Regions from separate parts of the Homo sapiens genome. Here region 1 is linked to region 2. The links are contacts of gene promoters, found by promoter capture Hi-C in human tissues and cell types (Jung and others, 2019). All regions are on one chromosome and are shown on one strand. Each heading gives the region's core, a stretch centred on a gene start or on the middle of the fragment in contact. The rest is flanking DNA. Distances are from core to core; before and after follow the strand shown.

Region 1 (5,214 bases), core at 1,569-4,068, 540 kb before region 2:
AATGAGGTAGGAATGAATTGACTACAGGCATAGGGTTTTGCATACATGACTATTAAGGTAGTAACCATCACTTCTCAAATGTATCTAAGCACAAAAGGGGTAAATATACAAGCTTCTCAGAGAAACCGTGTTAGTTGGTTATTTGAGACAGCCTGGTTATTGGGAGGCAGTGTGCAAACTGCATAATATTGTTCATTCATCTTAGCTGAAGGAACAAACAAGGAGACCAGGATTTTAATCCTGACTCTGCTACTGGAAGTCACCCAGGCTCTCAAGGTCTTAGATTTTTCCACCTGTATAAGAGGTTAGTCTACGTGATGGTTGTAAACTCATTCTACTTGCTCATCACTTTCTAACATCCACTTGCTGAATATACATTTGTTCAATGAAGATCATCTCCAATGGACAATGGATTCAGGAAGTAACTTACTCAAGGTCACAGGATCAGGAAAGAGAGCCCAGATCTCCTTCTACACCAGTCTAATACTCATACTTTCCAAGATCCTTTTCGGTTCAAAATGGTGTGATACTATTCTTCTCTTCCAAGTTCAAGAACTCTATAATCATTTATCTTATCAAATAATCTTGCCTGACTCCCTTAAATCATGAGACAGGAAGAAACAACTATTTCCACATCATTAACCTAGAGAATCAAAAGACGTGAAGAGGCCAGGTGTGGTGGCTCACACCTGTAATCCCAGGACTTTGGGAGGCCAAGGCAGGCCGATTACTTGAGGTCAGGAGTTTGTGACCAGCCTGGTCAACAGGGTGAAACCCCGTCTCTACTAAAAATACAAAAATTAGCCAAGCATGGTGGTGCACACCTGTAATCCCAGCTACTCGGGAAGCTGAGGGCAGGAGAGTCACTTGAACCCAGGAGGCAGAGTTGCAGTCAGCCAAGATTGCGCCATTGCACTCCAGCCTGGGTGACAGAGCAAGACTGTCTCAAAAAAAAAAAAAAAAAAAAAAAAAAAAAAAAAAGATGTAAAGAGATAATTAGGTGCAAATCCTTTCCCTTAGCCCGGAATTGAGATCAGAAATATTTTCTTTCAGATAAATGATGATTTTACTTTAAACCATATGGTTTCAATTTAAGCAATGTGATGAAAAATAAGTTCAAGTTTAAATTTAAGCAATGTGATGAAAAATAAGTTCAAGTACCACAAGCTTCCTGAGAGTACAACGCATAACAACTCGTAAAATTCTATTATCAAAGTTGCGCCACTTGATCCAAAAGGAATTCACAAAGTTAAATGTGAAAGGTTGACAGAGAATGTCTACAGATGCTTGCTTGATTTTTATTAACAAAGTACACATTTGACATTGAACCTCTGAGTATAACACCTTCCCAGGGCTGTCAAGTTAGAAGTGAAAAAATCATCTGGCAGTCAGTCAGCTTTCTAGATAGCTCCTAACAGGGGAGTCAAGGTCAAACTGGAGTCTCCTTATCCTCCCATATTTGACAAGCAACTTATTGTGAGGCTCAAAATATTCGTACTGCATTCTGACAAACAGAAATAATTGCACCGTGGTTCATAAAGTTCTGTGAGGGCAGGCTGACATAAACAAGAACTGAGTGGTGGTAGGGCCCATGCTTCTGCCACAGCACTTCGGTGACACTCTTGAGAATCAGAACTTTCACCTACTTTCTACCAGCTTTATCATCTATCAAATGAGAAAAACCACCTCATTCCTACGATTACAGGAATCAAATAATATTATGAAGAATTAAAACAGGCCTCAAATCTTGTGCAAAGGTGAGAGACTATTATTATATTATTTACTACGTATGGGCCCAGAAGACCGCCCCCCTCCCCGACATTCCACGTTCCGCAGGGTCCTCAAAAGGTGGTACAGGGTCCTAGTTTCTTCTCCAGACTCCAGGCCTGGCAACCGTAGATGCTGTCATGCCTCTGTTGCTAAGAGATGGGAAGTGAGGCCTCAGGAACTGGGCCTAGAAGACTCAACAACGACCGCGCCCCCTAGTCACCTTGTCCTCACCTTGAGGAATGGAAACACACCCCACGGGAGCAGGCAATGCTGTCCTCAAAAAGAAGAAAGAGGTGCCTCCGCTCTTCACCCGGCCGCCGCTGCTTGGGCCCACGCTTCTTGCGAGGCAGGGACAGGGCCAGGAAAGCTGACTGTGCCGGGGACGCCTTGACCTAGGGCACCAGAGAAGCGGGCACGGGTGCCGGGCCCACAACCGGGACAGGTACACGAGAAGTTGGCCCCAGGTTGGGCCCGCCTCGCCCTGCCTCGCCCACAGCCGCCGGCACAGTAGGAGGCACCCCGCCCCCGTGAACCCAGAGGTCCCTGAGCTCGCTCACCTGCAGCCGAGTCACCAGTAGGCTGTAGGGCGCCATTTTGTGCACTGACAAAGATGAGGTCGCATTAAAGTGACGTCCCACACGGCGCCTTTAAAGCCTTTGGGCAGGGGCGTGCCCGGAAGAGTGGGGCGTCACGGTGAAGGCGAGGCCTCCCTAGAGGCGCCAGAACCCTGTGAACGCAATGGGCGGAGCTCACGTGCAACGAACAGACACGCAAGAGGAAATCGGACTGCCCAAAGACACTTGCAGAAATAGATACCAAGCACAAAGATGTTTTACCCAAGAACAAATTTTAGTTATCTCCGCCATCCAAATCTGGGAGAGTTTTTAAGAGTTTCATGCACCTGCCAGGACCTGGCCGCCCAGCAGCGACAAAAACTCGCGCGAGAGCAAGACGGGCCTGGTGCAAGGATTGTAAACTGACGGAAGCTTAGAGAACCAATCACAGCGACGTGGAGGCAGGAACAATGGGGGTTAAAGGTCGGACGGAAGTTCCCGAAGCTTCCGGTGGCCGGCTTAGTTAGGAGCTATGGCTAAACATCATCCTGATTTGATCTTTTGCCGCAAGCAGGCTGGTGTTGGTGAGACTGCGCCCTACCCCTGGCTGTCTGGGCAGGGGTGGTATTAGGAGCTGGGGGGTCGGGGGTTCCCGTCTCTTCCTTAGGGGCTTGCCTCGCAGGCGCCACGTTTCCCGCCTCTCAGGCGCGGGGTGTTGTAGGAGCGCGCAGGTTTGTGGCCTCTGATGAGAAGAGGGCGGGGGTGCGCGTGCTGGGAGCCCCAGGCAGGTATCGGGGGGTGGGGTCTGAACCAGGTCCAGAGAAACTCTGAGCTTGCCCAGGGCGTTGGAGGAGATTCAGGAGGGTGCTTGGATGTAGGTTTGGTTCATATGGAAATTTGTAATGATAAAATGGCTATCCGCAGGTCTCACTCACTGCAGTCCTTACTCATGTCCCTACCCCCAGCTCGAGGATGTACTTCTCCTCTTTCTCAAAACCTTTATTCTAATTGTACTTTTTACCATCTTTCATCTTGCAGCCATCGGAAGACTGTGTGAAAAATGTGAGTGGAACACACCGTCCCAACAACCCACCCTTCCCACTCCCAGTTTTCTGTGGAACCAGCAAAAGTGCCACAAAGAGGGCTTTGAGTAGATGTGCCTGGAAGTATGTGAACACTGAATGCTGCACTTTAGCCAAAGGCCCCTCTAACTCCCCACTGCCGCTTGCACATTTAACGCTGTATCTCTCTAGTTTTCAACGGGAAGAATCGCCAGAGTAGCATGACCCCTCCCCAACACACAGCACTTTGCCAGCAATTATACAGGCTTATCATCTCCGAGGTGCTTTTCTAAGCTCTTCACATATGTTAATTGGTAAACTTTTGTATGTGTTGAGGGGCTTGAGATGGACACTGGGGAAACCAAGTTTTGTGATGCCAAGAGGAGGGCCCTAAAGTCACTGTCAAAAGGAGACTAGTGTATTTCCCAGGAGACTAGTATATTTCCCCATGGCAGGAGATAGCAGAGGACTGAAGAACTTGTGAGCATGACTCCATTCTCTTCCTTACAGGTGATGGCAAGTGTGTGATTTGTGACTCCTATGTGCGTCCCTGCACTCTGGTGCGCATATGTGATGAGTGTAACTATGGATCTTACCAGGGGCGCTGTGTGATCTGTGGAGGACCTGGGGTCTCTGATGCCTATTATTGTAAGGAGTGCACCATCCAGGAGAAGGACGTAAGTGTACAGCTTTCCATCTGACCTTTCCTCCTTTTGTTTAGTAACACTTTGCCATCCACTGCAATCTCCTATGGTCTATGGAGATTACTGTGTTCATCTAGTCATCTAGGTTATAATTTCTTCAAGTTCTGTGAGTCAAACTGGGTGTAGTCCAATAAAAGGCAGTTATTTTGCATCAAGGGGAAGAATGCAAGGGAAGCAAATCTTTGTCAAGACCAGCAATTTGGAGAGCCCTCTCATTCATGTCTCTGTGGTTATTCTTATTCAGAAATGACATCCGGCTGGGCGTGGTGGCCCACACCTGTAATCTCAGCACTTTGGGAGTCCAAGTTAGGAGGATCACTTTAGTCCAGGAGTTAAAGACCAGCCTGGGCCACAGAGCAAGATCCCATCTCAAAAAAAAAAAAAGTGTTTTGTTTTTTGTTTTTTGCTTCTTGTTTTTTGTTTTTTTGAGATGGGGTCTCTTGCTCTGTGGCCCAGGCTGGGGTGCAGTGGCATGATCATGTGCAAGGCTCACTGCAGCCTTGACCCCCTGGGCTCAAACGATCCTCCCATCTCATCCTCCCAAGTAGCTGGGACTACAGGCATGCGCCACCATACCTGGCTAAATTTTTTTTGTAGAGACAGGGTCTTGTTTTGTTACCTAGGTTGGTCTCGAACTCCTGGGCTCAAGTGATCCTCCTGCCTTAGCCTCACCAAGTGCTGGGATTACAGGCATGAACCATCACGCCTGGCCAAAAAAACATATTTTTCATTAGTCAGGTGTGCTGGTGTGTACCTGTGGTCGCAGCTACTTGGGAAACTGAGGCGGATGGATCACTTGGGACCAAGAGGTCAAGGCTGCAGTGAGCCATTTTCACGCCACTGCACTCCAGCCTGGGTGACAGAGACCCTGTCTGTTTATAAGTCCTGTACAGCCCATGTTGTGTCATAGCCACTTAAATCTATCATTAAGCACTATTTGGGTGTATATCGTGACAAAGTTGAATTTGGGACAATTCAAGTTGACTTCAGCTTTAAGCAGGTAACAGATGCCTTTGGTTTAATATTGCAGAAATGATTGTGGACCTGCATCGTGATTTTTTTTGTCCCTTGACACTGTGTAGTGGCAGTGGCTACTTTCTATTCAACTCTGAGCCAAATGCCAGG
Region 2 (4,905 bases), core at 2,233-4,732:
ATCAAAGAAAGATAAGAATCATAGGATATTTACGGGTACTTGGTAGATTCCATATTTTGTTTCTATTAGCACTAGAGGAAATCACAGAATGATAACAGGGGTACTTCTCTGAAAACTGGGCGCTACTACTGTGACTCTGACAGGGTACGTAAGTAGAGGATCTGCTCCTGCGCAGCACAACAGCTAAAAGGGTAACCTGTGAGGGTCAGTGCATTAAGAATCTATAGAGGGAGCAGGGATATCTGCGAAAGAAATCTTTCTTTTTTTTTTCTTTTTTTTTTTTTTTTTTGAGACGGAGTCTCGCTCTGTCACCCAGGCTGGAGTGCAGTGGCGCGATCTTGGCTCACTGCAAGCTCTGCCTTCTGGGTTCACGCCATTCTCCTGCCTCAGCCTCCTGAGTAGCTGGGACTACAGGCATCCGCCACCACGCCCAGCTAATTTTTTTTGTATTTTTAGTAAAGACGGGGTTTCACCGTGTTAGCCAGGAGGTCTCAATCTCCTGACCTCGTGATCCGCCCACCTCGGCCTCCCAAAGTGCTGGGATTACAGGCTTGAGCCACCACGCCCGGCCAGAAATCATTTTTTTCTTTTCTTTTTATTAATTTTTGAAGTCATCATTAAGAAATCAACTTTAAATTGAAGAGAAAAGATGGCAGGATGTCAGGATTTTATTTATTTATTTGTTTTTTTGAGGCAGAGTCTTGCTCAGTCACCCAGGCTGGAGTGCAGTCGCATGAGCTCAGCTCACTGCAACCTCCACCTCCCAGGTTCAAGCAATTCTCATGCCTCAGCCTCCCAAGTAGCCAGGATTACAGGCATGTATCATCACACCCAGCTCATTTTTGTATTTTTAGTAGAGACAGTGTTTCACCACGTTGGCCAGGCTGGTCTTGACCTCCTGGTCTCAAGAGATCCACCTGCCTGGACCTCCCAAAGTGCTGGGATTACAGGCGGAACCGCTGTGCCCAGCCCTGATGTCTGGATCTTTAGTATATACATATATAATTTTCTTTCTCTTCCATTTCCATCTTTATCAAGAATCTAAACACTTTCCAGGTCCCAGGCAACCAAATGGCAAGAAAAGCTCAGAAGTGTTTTGTTTGGTAGGTAGCTAGTGTTGCTGGAACCTGGACTGTGGCTGACTAGTAAGACTGCAGGACACCAGTGCCCCTGAGGGCTCATATGGCTCCAGTAGATATGCAGGATCTAGAATAGGTAGGGAGGAGTTACAGAAGGTATGTATTGGCCGCCCACAATCACCGAAAGATGAATTTTTGCATAGGCAGAGACCTTGGTAATTAGCTAAAAATACAGGCATCACACAAACTTCTTATGATATTGGGTTGATCTCAGCAAAAGTATAGAAAGGGAAGGACTTGAAAGAAGAAGTGAATTTTCTATATGTTTAAATGTGTTAACTGGAATGCATGGACATGTGTAACCAAGACCTTTATGTTTAAAAATTAAACTTGCTCTGATCATTAATTCTATAGAATTAATGTTACCAAAGCTGCAGTAACATACTATTCAAAAATTCATTTTCCCAGACTTCTAACTACTTAAAACAAAAAACCCCCCACACACAATTACATACATTCACACAGCTGCTATGCTCCCAAATGGAATGCATATATTAATGCACACACAGAGACACTCAGAAAGCACACGTGCAGGGCTGCCAGAAGACACCCATTTTGAACCTGAGGTGCATGTGGGCCGCAGTGAAGGTCAAGAAGCCTGGCTGCATATCTGTTCAATGTCATTCATCTCTTTGGGACAGTCTGCAGAAAGGATGAGAGGTGAGTCCTGAGTCACCACTACATCATCCTCAATTCGTACACCAAGACCCCGAAACTTCTCTGGGGCATCTTTGTCATCCTCTGGAATATAAATGCCTGTGAAGTAGAAAGAAGAACATGCTGTTCAGGAATGATAGTAACTGGGTGGTTTGGGGCAAGTAAGTTAACCTCTGGGTTAAAATTCCTTCCTCTGTAATACTGGATCTTTATGGTACCTACCTAGTAAAGCTGTGAGGATTAAATGAGATAATACATGTCAAAGTGGCTGGCATATAATGGTCAACACATGTTGGTATCATTACTAAAATTATTATTGTGGTTATCTTTATATTGGACTACAAGCTAAATACAACTACGGCAATGCTGATCATGATTCTGTCATATTCTAGTGGCTCAAGCAGGCCAATAAAGTTACTTAATTTAAAAGTACGTCAATATATGTGGGGGACAAGCAGATTATGTAAGTGCATTCTTCCCCTGCCTAAGAGTCCCTTGGAAAAAGAGCACCTTGCAAAAATAAAGACAAAATATATTTAAACTGTATTCAAAGAAACATTTAGAGATTATTAGCCTTGACAACTGGAAGCTGCAGAGACAGTCATTATAAGATTTAAATATATCTGATGTGTGTAATATAAAATACAAGAGAAACTGAAAGACTTTAATGTACATTTGGAAAAATGTAGGAACCCCAGGTACCCTTTCTAATCATGAAGTTAGACACATACCAGGGCTTTTTATATTAAACAAGTTGTAAACTTCCTCCACTATCCTCACAGATACTGCTCTGCGATTGAAAAAGAAAGATCAGCAAAGGAAAATGTAGCGCAGTCTAAGGAAGCGCCCATGTACCAAACAGATTGAACTAAATGATATATCTATGGCCACAGATAGCAATGTATGACTAGGTTCAAAGGGTGGCATAAAAGACATTTCACAGCCATAATTTATACAGAGATTAAAATACTTGAAATCTAAAATTTAGATCTGTTTTCAAAACAAAACCAGCATCAGTATTTAACCATCAACTCTGACAACATCAATCTTCACACACCATTGTGGTCACTGCTTCTCTTCAGAATCCTGCCCAACACCCAGGACCATTCAAGTTAGGTAACGTATCCGATTGTTAGCTTTCTCTGAAGCTTATGAGGAAGGCGATGGATACTAAGGAGTGGGATGGTGCTGGGTAGCTCAATGCAGCTTGCAGAGGTGTTGAAACTGAGAGCATAGTGTGTCTGCCTGTCTCTCTGCACACAAGCACCGGGGGCTTTGGAAGCTTGAGCAGCCCCCCACTACTAAATGGGAGACCAGTACAAACTGGCCCTGGGAAAGGCAGGATTAAAAAAGATTCATTTCTTAATATCTACTTATAGGAAGTATTCCCCATCTGTTGTTTATTGGAGGAGTCAAACTGAACAAATTGTGTGATATTAAATAAGAATACAAAAGATAAATCGAAAATAAAATTACCTTCCACACTGGACTTTTTTTCCTGTCTCTTCTAACTTAATTACATTGGTTGAGGTAAAAATAAACAATGTGGCTGGGCGCGGTAGCTCACGTATAATCCTAGCACTTTGGGAGACTGAGATAGGTGGATCACCTGAGGTCAGGAGTTCGAGACCAGCCTGGCCAACATGGCGAAACCCCGTCTCTACTAAAAATATAAAAATTAGCCAGGCGTGGTGGCCGACACCTGTAATCCCAGATACTCAGGAGGTTGAGGCAGGAGAATTGCTGAACCTGGGGGGCGGAGGTTGCAGTGAGTGAAGATCACACCACTTCACTCCAGCCTGGGCGAAAGAGCAAAACTCCATCTCAAAAACAAACAAACAAACAAACATTTACCTCATACTACTATTGTAACACCTCTCCTTACCGGGCTCAATTGTGATTACCATCCCAGGCTGCAGAGGGAGGGAACGGGGCATGTCTGGAGTGTCATGGACATCCATCCCGAGGTAGTGGCCAACATGATGAGGACAGTATTTTCGAGCAGCCTGGAAAAGATAATTGTCACAGTATCATTAGAGCAATGACCTCTTACAGGGAATGCTGGGCAAGTATAAATCAGTGAGATATGTGTTATTATCTCCCCCATGGTTCTGCCACTTCAGTTTAATCCCTCCTTGGGCTAATACTTAAAGGCACCTGAAAAACTGCGACCTCTTACATGCAATTCTGCCAATGGCATTCTCATCAATCCACATTTCCATTCCCGCTATTTAATATACTACATACATGCAGACTTGAGTAATTCCAACTAATGACTGTGGCAAATGAAAGTCTCTTTTCTTCAGTACCACAGGAAAGATAAAAATAAAAGAAAGAAAAAAAAATCTCTTTTCTTGGGAAAGAGAGGATGACTATTATCACAGTTCTCTTTCCAATGTTCGTTCACACATCCCTCTCAGGAATCTACTCTGGAGACCCTAAATAGCTCACAGCAACTTGTGGAGAAGGCACACTTTTGGGCACCTACCAGCTTGGGTATTTCTTTCTTTTTTTTTGAGATGGAGTCTTGCTCTGCTGCCCAGGCTGGAGTGCAGTGGTGTGATCTTGGCTCACTGCAAACTCTGTCTCCTGGGTTCAAGCTATTCTCCCACCTCAGCCTCCCAAATAGCCGGGATTATAGTCATGTACCACCATGCCTGGCTAATTTTTGTATTTTTAGTAGAGACAGGGTTTTACCATGTTGGCCAGGTTGGTCTCGAACTCCTGACCTCATGTGATCCGCCTGCCTCAGCCTCCTAAAGTGCTGGGATTACAGGTGTGAGCCACTGTGCCCAGCCAGCTTGGATATTTCCGTCAGTTAGTTAAAGATTTGTTGGCCCAAGCAACAGCCAATTTATAGCTTCATTTTTACTGATAACAGAAGTCCTAGAAGGCTTAACTTGTAGGTAGGAGATGCCTAATGGTCTATCTGACTTAGGCATCTAGTATCTTAATTTTAAAGCTGAGGTTTTACGTTTTTACTGAACACCATCACATTTTGGATGCAGAAAAAAAATTCACTAATGACATGGTCTTTGGGAATATTGCTGAAGTGTCAAAAATGTCACTTAAACAACAAATACCTTCTCCTTTGACCTACAGAATAACC

Evidence for each region. The method cuts DNA at HindIII sites, captures the fragments that hold promoters and counts their contacts. A contact is called where the count stands out against the background at its distance.
Region 1: a contact is called between the fragment with the promoter of PHF5A here and a fragment that was not itself captured in region 2, in 1 of the 25 tissues and cell types used here (dorsolateral prefrontal cortex).

The regions. Positions count from the first base shown.
Region 1 is chr22:41,466,296-41,471,509 of GRCh38, reverse strand. It overlaps PHF5A (PHD finger protein 5A), which reads left to right and starts at 2,818. Exons shown (of 4, transcript NM_032758.4): 1 at 2,818-2,908; 2 at 3,363-3,386; 3 at 3,896-4,062. The coding sequence starts at 2,857. ACO2 (aconitase 2) reads right to left here and starts at 2,393. Exons shown (of 18, transcript NM_001098.3): 1 at 2,328-2,393. The coding sequence starts at 2,363. RefSeq lists enhancers at 1,726-2,287, 2,288-2,849, 2,419-3,088. The HindIII fragment of the contact is 2,873 bases long and covers 1,963-4,835 here.
Region 2 is chr22:40,923,259-40,928,163 of GRCh38, reverse strand. It overlaps XPNPEP3 (X-prolyl aminopeptidase 3), which reads right to left. Exons shown (of 10, transcript NM_022098.4): 9 at 3,682-3,802; 10 at 1-1,895. The coding sequence ends at 1,729. Among named protein-coding and RNA genes, the nearest start is that of RBX1, 26 kb to the left of the region's middle. The HindIII fragment of the contact is 4,484 bases long and covers 1,241-4,905 here.